Linked DNA regions of Homo sapiens: regions 2 and 3 are each linked to region 1. Evidence: promoter capture Hi-C in human tissues and cell types (Jung and others, 2019). All regions are on one chromosome and are shown on one strand. The core of a region is centred on a gene start or on the middle of the fragment in contact, and the rest is flanking DNA. Distances in the headings are between cores, read along the strand shown.

Evidence for each region. Contacts are between HindIII fragments. The study calls those that stand out against the background at their distance.
Region 2: a fragment that was not itself captured here is called in contact with the fragment with the promoter of TACC2 in region 1 in 1 of the 25 tissues and cell types used here (pancreas).
Region 3: a contact is called between a fragment that was not itself captured here and the fragment with the promoter of TACC2 in region 1, in 1 of the 25 tissues and cell types used here (adrenal gland).

Annotation. Positions count from the first base shown.
Region 1 is chr10:121,986,571-121,991,142 of GRCh38, forward strand. It overlaps TACC2 (transforming acidic coiled-coil containing protein 2), which reads left to right and starts at 2,593. Exons shown (of 23, transcript NM_206862.4): 1 at 2,593-2,918. The HindIII fragment of the contact is 30,860 bases long and covers 1-4,572 here.
Region 2 is chr10:121,823,851-121,828,422 of GRCh38, forward strand. The region is part of intron 10 of ATE1 (arginyltransferase 1); the gene reads right to left. Among named protein-coding and RNA genes, the nearest start is that of ATE1, 100 kb to the right of the region's middle. The HindIII fragment of the contact is 5,400 bases long and covers 8-4,572 here.
Region 3 is chr10:122,128,173-122,132,744 of GRCh38, forward strand. It overlaps TACC2 (transforming acidic coiled-coil containing protein 2), which reads left to right. Exons shown (of 23, transcript NM_206862.4): 6 at 4,437-4,562. Among named protein-coding and RNA genes, the nearest start is that of BTBD16, 140 kb to the right of the region's middle. The HindIII fragment of the contact is 5,552 bases long and covers 1-4,572 here.

The DNA.
Region 1 (4,572 bases), core at 1,343-3,842:
AAGATGGTGGCTCTGTCTTCCTTTCTCTTTGTCGACCACCATACAATGTATTAAAGAGCAGTCAAGATAGTGCTGATCAACTGGAGAGTCCATTTACATAATAAGATTAGGGTGGGGCAGCCAGTCTTCCTCGCGGGCTATGTAAATGTCATACCTGATGGTACCAATCTATGAGGTCTGCGTAAATCAGACACCACCTTTTCCAGCCTGCCTATAAAATCTGCTGCGGTCCGCCGCCTCCCGTTTTGGACTTCTCTCTCTCTCCTTTCTTCTATTAAGTTTTCTACTTCTTAACCCACCCACGTGTGTCTGTGTCCTGAATTCTTTCTCATTGTGAGACAAGGAACCCCAGCATAAATACTCTAGACAATGTAGCTGTTAAAGTAGCATAGCCTAGCCTACCTAAAACGTGCTGAGAACACTTGCATTAGCCTACAGTTGGGCAAAATCACCTAACACAAAGCCTAGTTTGTGACAAAGTGTTGAATCTCATAGAATTTATTGAATACTGTACTGAATTTGAAAAACAGAATAGTTGTTTGAATACTCAAAGTACAGTTTCTGCTGAATGCATTCTCTCTTTTGAGCCATCTTATGATAAATCTACATCAAATTATTGTTATGTTAGGGAAGGAAACTGCCTTTGCAGAACTGACAGTAACAGAAATGTGACATGGTTGACTTCATCTTGCTTCTGACCTCCAAGCTGTCCTTGGTTATTCCTGGGCATAGGCCAAGCTAACTTTGGGAGGAATTCAATTTATAGTTTAATTTGAAAGTAAAGATTATAATAGTCCCTCCCTAAAACTAACCCCCTCCTTTCTCAGGGACCAAAATCGCCTTTGTAAGACTAATGAAAGGCCACAGGAATAGGATAATGGGAGAAGGCAGAACTCTGCTAAAATGTAGGCATAGTTTCTATAGTCCCTTAATGCCCAGGGGTCATGTGGCCAGAGTTCACAAGATCTGTGACTTTCCCAATTGCTCCTGTAAGTAACATCACTATTGTAGAACTTAAGATTGGGGTGTTTGTTTGTTTGTTTGTTTTTGTATTTTTAGTAGAGACGGGGTTTCACCATCTTGGCCAGGCTGGTCTCGAACTCCTGATCTTGTGATCCACCCACCTGGGCCTCCCAAAGTGCTGGGATTACAGGCGTGAGCCACCGCGCCCAGCCAAGATTGAGTTTTTTAAGATGTTTTTCAGACTGACCTCACTCAGACTCATGACTCATGACTCAACAGGTCCTGGGGCCCCACCCAGAGGCAGACTCAGTGCATGAGGACTGCTTTCCACACCGGTATGATTTCATCCCCAACCAATCAGCGGCACTATCCCCCTACCCCCTGACAACCAAATTGTCCATAAAAACCCTTGTTCCGAGCCTACAGGGAGACTGATCTGAGGGATAACTCCAGTTCTCCCACGTGGGCTCAGCCTCGCGGCAGTTAAACTCTTTCTCTATTGCAATGCCATGGTCTCAGTGAATTGATTTTTGTCTGTGCAGTGGGGAAGAAGAACTTGTTGGGTGGCTCCAGAACCATCTGTATAATGATGAATAAGACAAAGTCCCTACTCTCATGGAGGAGACAGATAATAAAGAAAAGAAAAAAAAAGGATTTGGTCATTGTAAGTGCTATGAAGAATTTAAATAGGCTAAAGGGATAGGTGGAGAATAGAAGTTGCATTTTTTCTTTCCCTCCAGATAGAGTCTCACTCTGTCACCCAGGCTGGAGTGCAGTGGTGCGATCTTGGCTCACTGCAACCTCCACCTCTGGGTTCAGGCAGTTCTCCTGCCTTAGCCTCCTAAATAGCTGGGATAGCAGGCACCTGCCACCACGCCCGGCTAATTTTTGTCTTTTTAGTAGAGAGGGGGTTTTACCATGTTCGCCAGGCTGGTCTTGAACTCCTAACCTCAAGTAATCCACCCACCTCGGCCTCCCAAAGTGCTGGGATCACAGGCATGAGTCACTGTGCCCGACCTGAAAGTTGCTATTTTAGGTGTGATGAGCAGCACAACATCTTTCCTGAGGAGGTGACATTTGAGATGTGACTTGAATTGTGAGGAGTAATGTGTCATGCAAAAATACAGGGAAGTCATATTGTAGTCAAAGGCAATAGCAAAAAAAAGTCTTTGGGGTTAAAATAAGTCTGACACATTCAAGAAAGTTCAGAAAGGCATACATACCTGTGTTAGAGTAGGTAGCTAGGGGAACATGAGAAGGGCAGCAGAGGGCATTCCACCCCCACCCCCAACCAGGAATGTCAGGCGACCATCATGTGATGGTCAGGTGGTTGTTACACTGTTTCTCTAAAATCATCATTGGTTGCAGCCAGCACCAGGGAAAGGCCGGCTCCCAATAGATAGAAAACACCTGAAGCTAGTGTCAGCCGCTTCCTGATAAGATCTCAGGAGTTGGGCAAGTGGGCTCAAGCATGGGCCCTAAGGGGCAAAATGTCAGAGTTTAACTAATATATGACCTTCCTCTAGGAATTCTCGACTGGCAAGGGAAAAATGCCTCAAATGAGCACGCGCACAACTTCAGTAAACACACTGTGAGTGCGGCCACTCCCAAGTGCTGGCAGACCACTGCATAAGTGGACAGCCTGCTCCAAGGGAAGGATCAGGAGAGAAGAAACGCAAATCCCAGAACCGTGCCAACATATAAAACCCCACATTAAGGGTTGTACAGTGCACTGGGATTTCTCAAGTCACCCGCTTGGTCCTCTTCCAAGTATACTTTACTTCCTTTCATTCCTCTCTAAAACTTTTTTAAAAACTTTCACTCCTGCTCTAAAAGTTATCTTGGTTTCTTACTCTACCTTATGCCCCTTGGGCGAATTTTTTCCTCTGAGGAGGGAAGAATAGAGTTGCTGCTGCAGACACATCAGATTCCCTACTGGTAACAGCTGGAGTGCGGTAAGTAAGGAGGAGAGGGCTGGAAAATGAAGTTGGCTCTGATTCCCATTACTTGAAAATACAGGGTAGGAAAACCCTATCTTCTTAGGTTCAGTGGCTGGGGAGCACCATCACTCAAGGTGAGAACTGCCTGGCTGAGCCCAGCCAACTCACAGAACTGTATGAGGTATTTTCATCTACTGTGCTAGGCACCTAGTGAGAGCCCTTTTGCGTCTTTCAACTTTGGAAAAAATTATGATTTATTTTTATTTTTTAAATTAATTTTATTTTTTTTTTTTATGTTTTTAGAGATAGGTTCTTACTCTGTCATCCAAGCCAGAGTGCGGTGGCATGATCATGGCTCACTGTAGCCCAGAACTACTGGGCTCAAGTGATTCTCCTGCCTCAGCTTCCCAAGCAGCTGGTACCACAAGCACATGCCAGCATGTGCAGCATGGGAAATATTTTTATGTTACCACCTCGACACTTTCTTCCTTCTACTTTTCTGTGTCATGTCTGCATCTCCCGTCACTTAGATAGGGACCTCACAGTTTGATTCTCCAGACCTTTAATATTTTTTCATATTTTAAATATTTCTTTAATTCTGTTTTTTGAGATATTTTATTAAATTTACCTTCAACCTTCTGTGGATTTTTTTTTTTAGACAGGGTCTTGCTCTACTGCCCAGGCTGGAGTGCAGTGGCATAATGATGGTTCATTGCAGCCTCGACCTCCCGGGCTAACGCAATCCTCCCACCAGGAGCAATCCTCTCAAGTAGTTGGAACTACAGGTGCATGCCACTAAATTCAGCTAATATTTTTTATTTTTTATAGAGATGGGGGTCTCGCCGTGTTGGCCAGGCTGGTCTCAAACCCCTAGGCTCAAGTGATCCTCCTGCCTCAGCCTCCCAAAGTGCTGGGATTATAGGTATGAGCCACCAAACACTGCCAGAATTTTAAATATCAGGATATAGGAAAGGTTTTGCTTTCGTTTTCAATTTTGTTTTTGTCTTATGGCACGGGGCCAGGCAGGGCAAAGGGTAGATTCCATTGACACTTATTTTTAATTTTCTGCCCAAGTACGTTCCCACCATTGTTCCTGGTGTTTCAGACCCTCTCCAGGGTCTGCAGAGTCTTGTTTGGCTGGAGCCCCTTCTACTCTAGTCTAATGCCCCTCTGCCCTAATTCCTCAACTACCAGGCCGTCACTGCTTTCCATTACCCACAACCATGGAGAAAGCTCTCATCAGCTAATGTGCCTTCTCCAGTTTGCCACATTATTACATTATTGTCTGGACATACCTGTTTTTTTGTTGTTGTTGTTTGTTTGTTTGTTTTTGAGACAGGGACTCGCTGTGTTACCCAGGCTGGAGTGTAGTGTTGCCTTCTCGGCTCACTGCAACCTCTGCCTCCCAGGTTCACTCGATTCTCCTGCCTCAGCCCCCTGAGTAGCTGGGATTACAGGCACCTGCCACCACGCCCAGCTAATTTTTGTATTTTTAGTAGAGATGATTTTGCCATATTGGCCAGGCTGGTTTCAAACTCCTGACCTCAAGTGATCCACCTGTCTCAGCCTCCCAAAGTACTGGAATTACAGGTATGAGCCACTACGCCTCATCTGGACCTACTTGTTTTTAAAAATGCCTTTGTTATCATTTTAATGAAGTCTCTTAAAG
Region 2 (4,572 bases), core at 1,458-3,957, 160 kb before region 1:
ACACCTTATCATATATCTGATAAGCAATGCCATTTACATGAATTTCAATTCTTAAGTTCAAACTCTTCTCGTGGGTAAAATTAAAATGTGAGTTAAGGCAAACTCTGGGCAAGCTAACCATCTTGAGCTTCAATTTTCTCATCTGTAATGAGAAGCTTAGAACAGTAAAGAACTGCTTTGACTCTGGTGTGGCAAAATTCCCCACATGTGACAGTGTTCTAAATAAGAATTTGTGATGACCATGAGAATTCTTTTACCTCCCACTACCTCTAGGGGGCATCAAAAATCCCTTACTAAATTCTCCTGTGGTAATTTTTCTCACTGACTACGTCTAATTCACAGGACATCTGACATCAAGAAAACATGCTGAATCAAAAGAATCCAGTATTTTGTCCTGTGCTGTGGGTTAACTGATGAGATCATTTGTATTCCTTTCAGTCCAGTAGTAGCAAAGTCACCTACCACGTGTGTCCACATGCATCACCCCGGCCTGCAAGGCTATAGTGAAATAACATTTACCAACGTGTTTGGTCAGGAAACTTTGAAAAGCTTGGAAACTTGGGGGTTTCAGTAGTGCATGATTTTGCAGACGCAGCTCTGTTAATTCCATTTTTTTGTAGGTGCTTACTATCATAATAGTAAGGCCAAGCACCTACTTTTGGGCAAAGCCCTGCAGAATTCCAATTCTCACAATCAAGCTGAGACATTCACATAAGCATAATTAATCACAGACGGATTTAGCCTTTTGTTTCTTTTCTGACATTTCAGAACTCTTTCTGATGTTTCAATGATCTGATGTCTGGCCACATCATGATACCAAACAGACCGCCTGAAATCACTTTGTCTACTTTGGACAGCATACATGTCTGTATAAAAAATTCAGTCAAAATACCTTCTTCAGATCATAGAATGGCCTTACACAGCACTCTGAGAGATAATATGGGGGAAAAAATTTAATTATGCCTAACAACATTTCTATATACTCTAATTTTCATTTTCAAATGTAATCATTTTGAAATGAGAAGGGGTTAAAAAGAGAGAACTAAGCTTTGCATGCAAATAATAAATATTTGAAAAGCATGGGAAACCCTATGTTTACAGTAAAAAAAAAAAGTGAATAGCTATTTTCAAGCATACGCCAAAAAGGAGACAAAGTAAAGAAAAAAAGGAAAAAAGCCTATATATAAAATTTTGAGATGTGAAATTAATACAGTAATTTTAAGAATGGATTAATTTTAAAAGAAATTATAATTTCCACCAACCACCTTCCACTTTAATTTAAATATTAAGTTATATAATAATTTATTAAATAATATAGTTTCCACTAATTCCCAAGATGGAATTATGGGAAATAAAGTAAGGTTAATATGATGAGTATCATTAGGCACACAATTAAAATCTGAATGAAGGTTGAAAGGACTCATTTCTATTGAAGTTTTCTTTCCAACAATACAGGTTACAAATATGACACACAGACAGAAATGTTTAAACCAACAGCTCAGTTAAAAATATATTTCATATCTCAGTTTAAAGAAAATATTGGCTTAGGCAGAAATTTTAAAAATTTTTCAGATGTTCACACTCTGCAGGACCCTGTGCTCAAGGAAGCAGTTTCTCCCATTACCAACCATGCTTGCCTTAAGTCTAACTCCTTACCAGTGATTAGCTCACATACAAATAAGAGGCACAACTCTGACAAACGAAACATGTGAAGTCTGCTAGAAGGCTTCTCAGTGAGGGTTTCCTCAATCTTAGGAAGAGACACAAACCACCTCACACCCATTACAATAGCTAGTATTAAAAGGAAAAACAAACGGCAGCCCAGAAAATAACAAGTGCTGGTGAGGATGTGGAGAAACTGGAACACTTGTGCATTGCTGGCAGGATGTGAAATGGTATGGCCTTATGGAACACAGGGTGGCAGTTCCTCAAAAAATTAAAAATAGAATTACCTTTGATTCAGCAATTCCACTTACGGGTATACACAAAGAAGGGAAAGTGAGTCTCAAAGAGATATTTGTACCCTGTGTCCATAGCAGCATTATTCATTAACAGCCCAGGGATTGGGGCAGCCCAGATGCCAATGGATAAATGAATAAACAAAATGTGGTATATACAGTGAAATGTTATTCAGCCTTAAAGAGGAAAGAAATTGACATATGTGACAACATGAATGAATCTTGAGGGTATTATGCTGAGTAAATTAAGTCAGTTACAGAAAGACAAATGCTATGATTCCACTTTTTTGAGGTACCTAGAATAGTCAAATTCTTAGGGGTGGGGAAGGGGGAGCTATCGTCTATTGGGTACAGAGTACTGATTGTGTAAGATGAAGAAATGACATGGAAGGTGGTGATGGTGCACAGCAATGTGAATGTACTTAATATCACCAAACTGAGCACTTAAAAGTGTTTAAGAGGGTAAACATTATGTGTATTTTACCACAACCAACAAGAATGTTTTTTTTTCTTTTTGAGATGGAGTCTCGCTCTGTTGCCAGGCTGGAGTGCAGTGGCGCAATCTCGGCTTACTGCAACCTCCACCTCGTGGGTTCAAGCAATTCTCCTGCCTCAGCCTCCCAAGTAGCTGGAACTAGAGGCATGCGTCACCACATCCACTAAACGTTTTTGCATTTTTAGTAGAGACAGGGTTTCACCATGTTGGCCAGGATGGTCTCAACTCTTGACCTTGTGATCCACCCTCCTCGGCCTCCCAAAGTGCTGGGATTACAGGCATGAGCCACCGCACCTAGCAACAATAATTTTTTTCCAACTTTTATTTTAGAATCAGAGGGTACATGTGCAGGTTTGTTACAAAGGTGTATCGTGTGATGTTGAGGTTTGGCGTACAAATGAATCTGTCACCTAGGTAGTGCGCACAGCACCCAACAGGTAGTTTTTCAGCCCTTGCCACCTTCCCTCTCTCCCCACTCTAGTAGTCCCCAATGTCTACTGTTCCTCTCTTTTTAGTTCATGTGTATCTAATGTCTAGCTCCCACTTATAAGTGAGAACATGTGGTATCTGGTTTTCTATGTTAGCTCACTTAGGAGAATGGCCTCCAGCTGCATCCTTGTTGCTGCAAAGTACATAATTTCATTCTTTTTGATGACTGTGTAGTATTCCATAGTATATCTGTATCACATTTTCTTTACTGTTGATGGGCAATAATTTTTTTTTTTTTTGAGATGGAGTCTCTCTCTGTCGCCAGGCTGGAGTGCAGTGGCGCAATCCCAGCTCACTGAAACCTCCGCCTTCTGGGTTCAAGCAATTCTCCTGCCTCGGCCTCCTGAGTAGCTGGAACTACAGGTGTGCGCCACCATGGCCATCTAAATTTTGTACTTTTAGTAGAGACGGGGTTTCACCATGTTGGCCAGGATGGTCTCAATCTCTTGACCTCGTGATCCACCTGCCTCAGCCTCCCAAAGTGCTGGAATTACAGGCATGAGCCACTGTGCCCAGCAAATTTTTTTTAAAAAGAGGAGACAGAGGAGAGAAAATTCTTTTCTGATTCTAGTCACTGCTGATGGCCCGCAATTCCTGAATGGGCAGCCACCACCTTGGAACTGTAAGAGAAGCTGACCAAGAGGACCAGCACCACTGCGGACAGCAGCCAGAAAACCACACTACCCCTCCCGCTTCAGCAGGATGAGCTCCTCCCAGGAGAAACTCTTCTCAGTTGAAAATACAATTTCCACTAATTTCAACCAGTGCCTGAGTCCCCGAACTGATACTGAGCTACACTAAAACAGTACCAAGTCTCATTACAATGGCCACAATTATTACAATAGCTCATGTGAGCAATGACAGCACAACATTTGAAGACAATTTCCTTTCATCAATGACTGTATTTATCACCTGTCATTAAATTATTTTGTGACTATCTTGTGCCTTACATGTAAGACTATGGTCATGGACAAAAAATATCTATGTAATGTAATGTAATGACTACAGAATATATGCAATGTAAATCAGTCTTTATTGAAAACCCATAAACAATGAACAATAAAACCAAAAAATTCAACAAAAGCATTTTAGAGAATATGATGCACAAGAATATAACTGCTACTTATTAGCAAAATTCCTTAGGGAGGAGAATTTACTGTAATGCATCCTGTCTATATACTATGACGATGACCACATACTGGTTTTCCTCTTGTAGTGCTCACCATTAGCAAGGCAAGCAAAATAAAAATTTGTCAGCATGTTAAGATACCTCGTAAGCTCATGTCAGGATATTAAATGAAATGTCTTATAAAGACTAATTCTCATAAGCCCAATGAGCACATCTCTAGGCATGACTGCATGTGGAAATTAAGTGACTTTGCCAAAACTCTTACATTACACCATCAGAAACGTCTCAAATCCACTCAGTTCAATTCAAGACATGAGTGTGCACAGCAAAACAGAGAATGAAGGTGTCACTTTCATACCTACACCATGTGTTTCAGTCATCCATTGCTGAGTAACAAACCACCCAAAAACGTAGTGGCCTTAAACAATAACTTATTATTCCTCATGATTCTGTGGGTTGGCTAGAACTCAGCTAGGTGGGTTTTCTTCTGGTCTGTCTCG
Region 3 (4,572 bases), core at 1,022-3,521, 140 kb after region 1:
GAAAGGCTAAAGCTCAGAGAAGTCCCCTGGCTTAGATCCCATGGTGGGCCTGGACTGGAATCCAGTCCCCTCAACTTCACATACGGTGGTTACATTTGGTGCCACAGCACTAATGTCACTCACTTATGTCATAGTTGCCGAGGACGGCTGAGTGTCATTGAGCAAGTATTTAATTATGTTCAAGATCCTCTGTCTCAAAAAAGTCAGGGAAGTGTTTATGATTTGAAAAATAATTCCATTCCAAAGAGTTTAGGTGAAAATGCCATCACGTAGAATATGTGGGCAGATATCTTTTATTCCAGATCTTCTTTGCTGGGACCTCATTTTCCAGTGGTGCCTAATGGACGAAGCCTGGCCGCGTTCCCGCCCTGGAATGAGGCTGACAAGCCTAGGTCCTCCCAGTGGAAAATATGAGTACAGAAGTGGGGAAAAGACAGTGGCTTTCTGATTGTCTCCATCTCTGAAAGCTTTCACTGAGTTATACATGGAAGTTGTTCCCTGGCACTTAAAATAACTTCTTACATATGGTTTCTAATTTATTTTACTTACAAAAGTAGTATGTGTTCAGCATAGAACTAGAAAGTAGATATAAATTTCATTAAGAAAAAACACAAATGATTTCACCACCGAAAGAGAATTACCGTTAACACCTTGGCAATACTTGTCCAAATTGCTTCATTGTTCAGGCTATTATGCTTGCGCTGTCTCTCTCTCTCTCTGTCACGTGCTCGTGTGTGTATGTCTATACATAGACTGTATAGACACACATACCCATGTATATCATTGATACACATAAAATGTGGATCATGCTGCTAAGTTTTTTCAACCTATGTTCAATTAATAATGGACATGTTTGCATCTAGATACATGAAGATCTATCTTATTTTAATTATTATTATTATTATTATTATTATTATTATTATTTGAGATGGAGTTTTGCTCTTGTCACCCAGGCTGGAGTGCAATGGCACGATCTCTGCTCACTGCAATCTCCAACTCCTGGGTTCAAGCGATTCTCCTGCCTCAGGTGCCCACTACCACACCTGGCTAATTTTTTGCATTTTTAGTAGAGACGGGGTTTCACCATGTTGGCCAGGCTCGTCTCGAACTCTTGACCTCAGGTGATCCACCTGCCTCGGCCTCCCAAGGTGCTGGGATTACAGGCATGAGCTACTGCGCCCGGCCTACCTTATTTTTTGAACAGCCGCAAACGAGTCCATCCTGTGGTTGCGCCTTAATTTGATGAACTGTCCTCTACTGTTGGGCATTTTGGTTGTTTCCAGATTTTTTGCTATCGTGATTCCAGTTGTGATCAGCATATTTGCCCATGCCCTTAATTATCTCCTTAAAATGAATTCTTGGAAGAACCATGGCTGTGTCAAAGGAAACGAAGTCTTTTATGGTTTTCAATGTGTGTTGCCAGAACTTTGGAGCTCTGTTTTTCCACTCAGATTTTATGATTTTGGAAAGTGCCCCTGTAGTTTGCCTGTAGTTTAGGATTCTAGACATTGTGATTCACCAAGACACCCAGCCGGAGCTCCTGCCATCCTCCCTCTTCTGGGCTCACTGCTTCTTCCATTTCTCTTTGCAGTGATCTCTTTCTCTGACTCCTTGGATGTGGTCACAGGGCTTCAGGATCTTGTTCTGGGGGAACTGGAATGGTGGGTGGGAACATGGAGAATGGAGAATAAGCAGTAGTGTGGGTGCACACATGTGCTAGTCCAATCGTATTGAGAGGATAGTTTTGGGAAATTCACCCTGGACCTCCGCACTGTCAATGCCAAAGGCACTTTATGGCTGAACATTGGGTTGAAGCTTCAGGCTGATTCTTCTGCCTAGGATCAATACGGAGTCTCCCTCTGTCACCCAGGCTGGAGTGCAGTGGCGCAATCTCAGCTCACTGCAATCTCTGCCTCCCAGGTTCAAGTGATTCTTGTGCCTCAGCCTCGTGTGGCTGGGATTACAGGCACACACTACCATGCACAGCTAATTTTTGTATTTTTAGTAGAGACAGGTTTTCACCATGTTGGCCAGGCTGGTCTTGAACTCCTGACCTCAAGTGATCTGCCCACCTCGGCCTCCCAAAGTGCTGAGATTACAGGTGTGAGCCACTGTGCCCAGCCAGACTCCCCCTTCTTCATCTGTACTCTAGTTGCAGTGACATTTTGCAGGTCCTCTAGAATACCAAGCTCCTTCCTGATTCAGGGTTTTTAAATACGTGGCTCCCTGAATGGGGGGTAGGGCTGAGGGTCAGGGTATACTCTTCCTTTTTTAAGCTTTAACATTTTTTCTAGAGACAGGGTCACCCTATGCTTCCCAGGCTGGTCTTCAACTCCTGGCTTCAACTGATCCTCCAGCCTCAGCCTCCCCAAAGTGTTGGGATTACAGGCATAAGCCACCGTGCCCAGCCCCTCTTCCTTCCTCTTCCACCTGTGGGACAAAGCCAAGTGTGGAGATTAAGAGCATGACTCCTGGGGTCAGGCTTGGGTTTGTATCCTGGTTCTGCCACTTAGCTGCTGTTCAACCTTCGACAAGCTGCTCAGCCTCTCTGTGCCTTAGTTTTTACATCTGTAAAGTGTGTTTAATAATCGTATCCCCCTCATAAAGGTCGTTGTGAGGATCAAATACAGTGCCATCTATACGCACTTAGAACAGTTCCTGGCACGTATACGTAGTAACCATTAGGAAACACTTGTTACTGAGCTGGCCTCAGCATGCTCACCACACCACAGAGTTTTCCACAACCCCCATTGTGGGCCAAGAGTTCTCAGTTTGTGTTCTCATGACCATCTGCACCTTCCTTCTTAGCAGTTACTACAGTTGTTACTAAATAAATAAACATTTAAAAAAAATGTCTGGGCTGGGCAAGGTGGCCCACGCCTATAATCCCAGCATTTGGGGAGGCTGAAGTGGGAGGATTGCTTGAGCCTGGGAAGTTGAGGTTACAGTGAGCCGTCATGGAGCCACTGCATTTCAGTCTGGGCAGCAGAGGGAGACGCTTTCTCAAAAAAAAAAAAAAAAAAAAAAAATCTGACTCTTGCCTGAAGCTGTCCCATGAGACGTCCCATGAAGGCAGGGACCGCTGCTCTCTTGTTCACAGCAGAGAATTGGTTTTCAATAAGGATCTGATCAAGGAGTGGAAAGAATGGTCCTGCTACTTATGGCTACAGAGCGGAGTTCATCAGAAAGTCACTCAGGGACCTCCCCGATGAAATAATAGGGTAACTGACTACAAGACGATGGGTGTCCAAGGACTGAGCCTCTTCTAGCTTCCTGAGCCACCCTGTGCTTGGAGGTTGCAGACTCTTTCAGTCCATAAAGGACCAGGGTTGTTTTTAAATTTCTAACTCATCATAGATCTAAACTTTAAAAAATATAATTAAATGAATTACTAGAAAAATGAAATAAAACTCAAGGCTGGGGTTTCTCAACCTTGGCACTATTGATGTTCTGGACCACATAGTCCTTTGTCTTGGGGACTGTCCTGTGTGTGGTAGGATGTTGAACCTGTCCTTTTATTATTAGATTTAACAGACATGAACGTAGTCTATCAAATTGCTACAGAGGGGCCAGGCGTGGTGGCTCATGCCTGTAATCCCGGCACTTTGGGAGGCCAAGGCGGGCAGACCACTTGAACCTAGGAGTTTGAGACCAGCCTGGCCAACATGATGAAACCCCAACTCTACTAGAAATGCAAAAATTAGCCAGGCGTGGTGGTGGGTGCCTATAATTCCAGCCACTCGGGTGGCTGAGGTACGAGTATTGCTTGAACCCGTGAGGCGGCGGTTGCAATGAGCCGAGATCACGTCATTGCACTTCAGCCTGGGTGACAGAGCGAGACAGTCTCAAAAAAGAAAGAAAAAGAAAGAAAGAAAGAAAGAAAGAAAGAAAGAAAAAGAAAGAAAGAAAGAGAAAGATCTACAAAGGTTTCTAAACACTTACTTGAGGTTTCTGTACTACTCTTGGCATAGACTGGTGACAGACCCTGCTTTGAGCAGCACCAAACTCATCCCTCACAGAAAGGGAAACTGAGGCCCTGCTCAGGATCCAGATAGAAATGTGCTGTTAAAACACATTGAAAACTTGTAGGAGGCCAGGCACGGCGGCTCACGCCTGTAATCCCCACACTTTGGGAGGCCGAGGCATGCAGATCACCTGAAGTCAGGAGTTTGCGACCTGCCTGGCCAACATGGTGAAACCCGATCTCTACTAAAAATACAAAAAAATTAGCTGGCTGTGGTGGCGGGGCGCCTGTAATCGCAGCTACTCAGGAGGCCAAGGGAGGAGAATTGCCTGTACCCTGGAGACAGAGTTTGCAGTGAGCGGAGATCGCGCCATTGCCCTCCAGCCTGGATAAGAAAAGCGAAACTCCGTCTCAAAACAAAAACTTGTAGGAATGTTTCTGAGTTTAGGTTCTTTCCCTTTTCTCTCCCCAGTTCACCTGTGGCAGATGATATCATCCAGCCCGCTGCCCCCGCAGACCTGGAAAGCCCAACCTTAGCTGCCTCTTCCTACCACGGTGATGTTGTTGGCCAGGTCTCTACGGATCTGATAGCCCAGAGGTACGGTGGG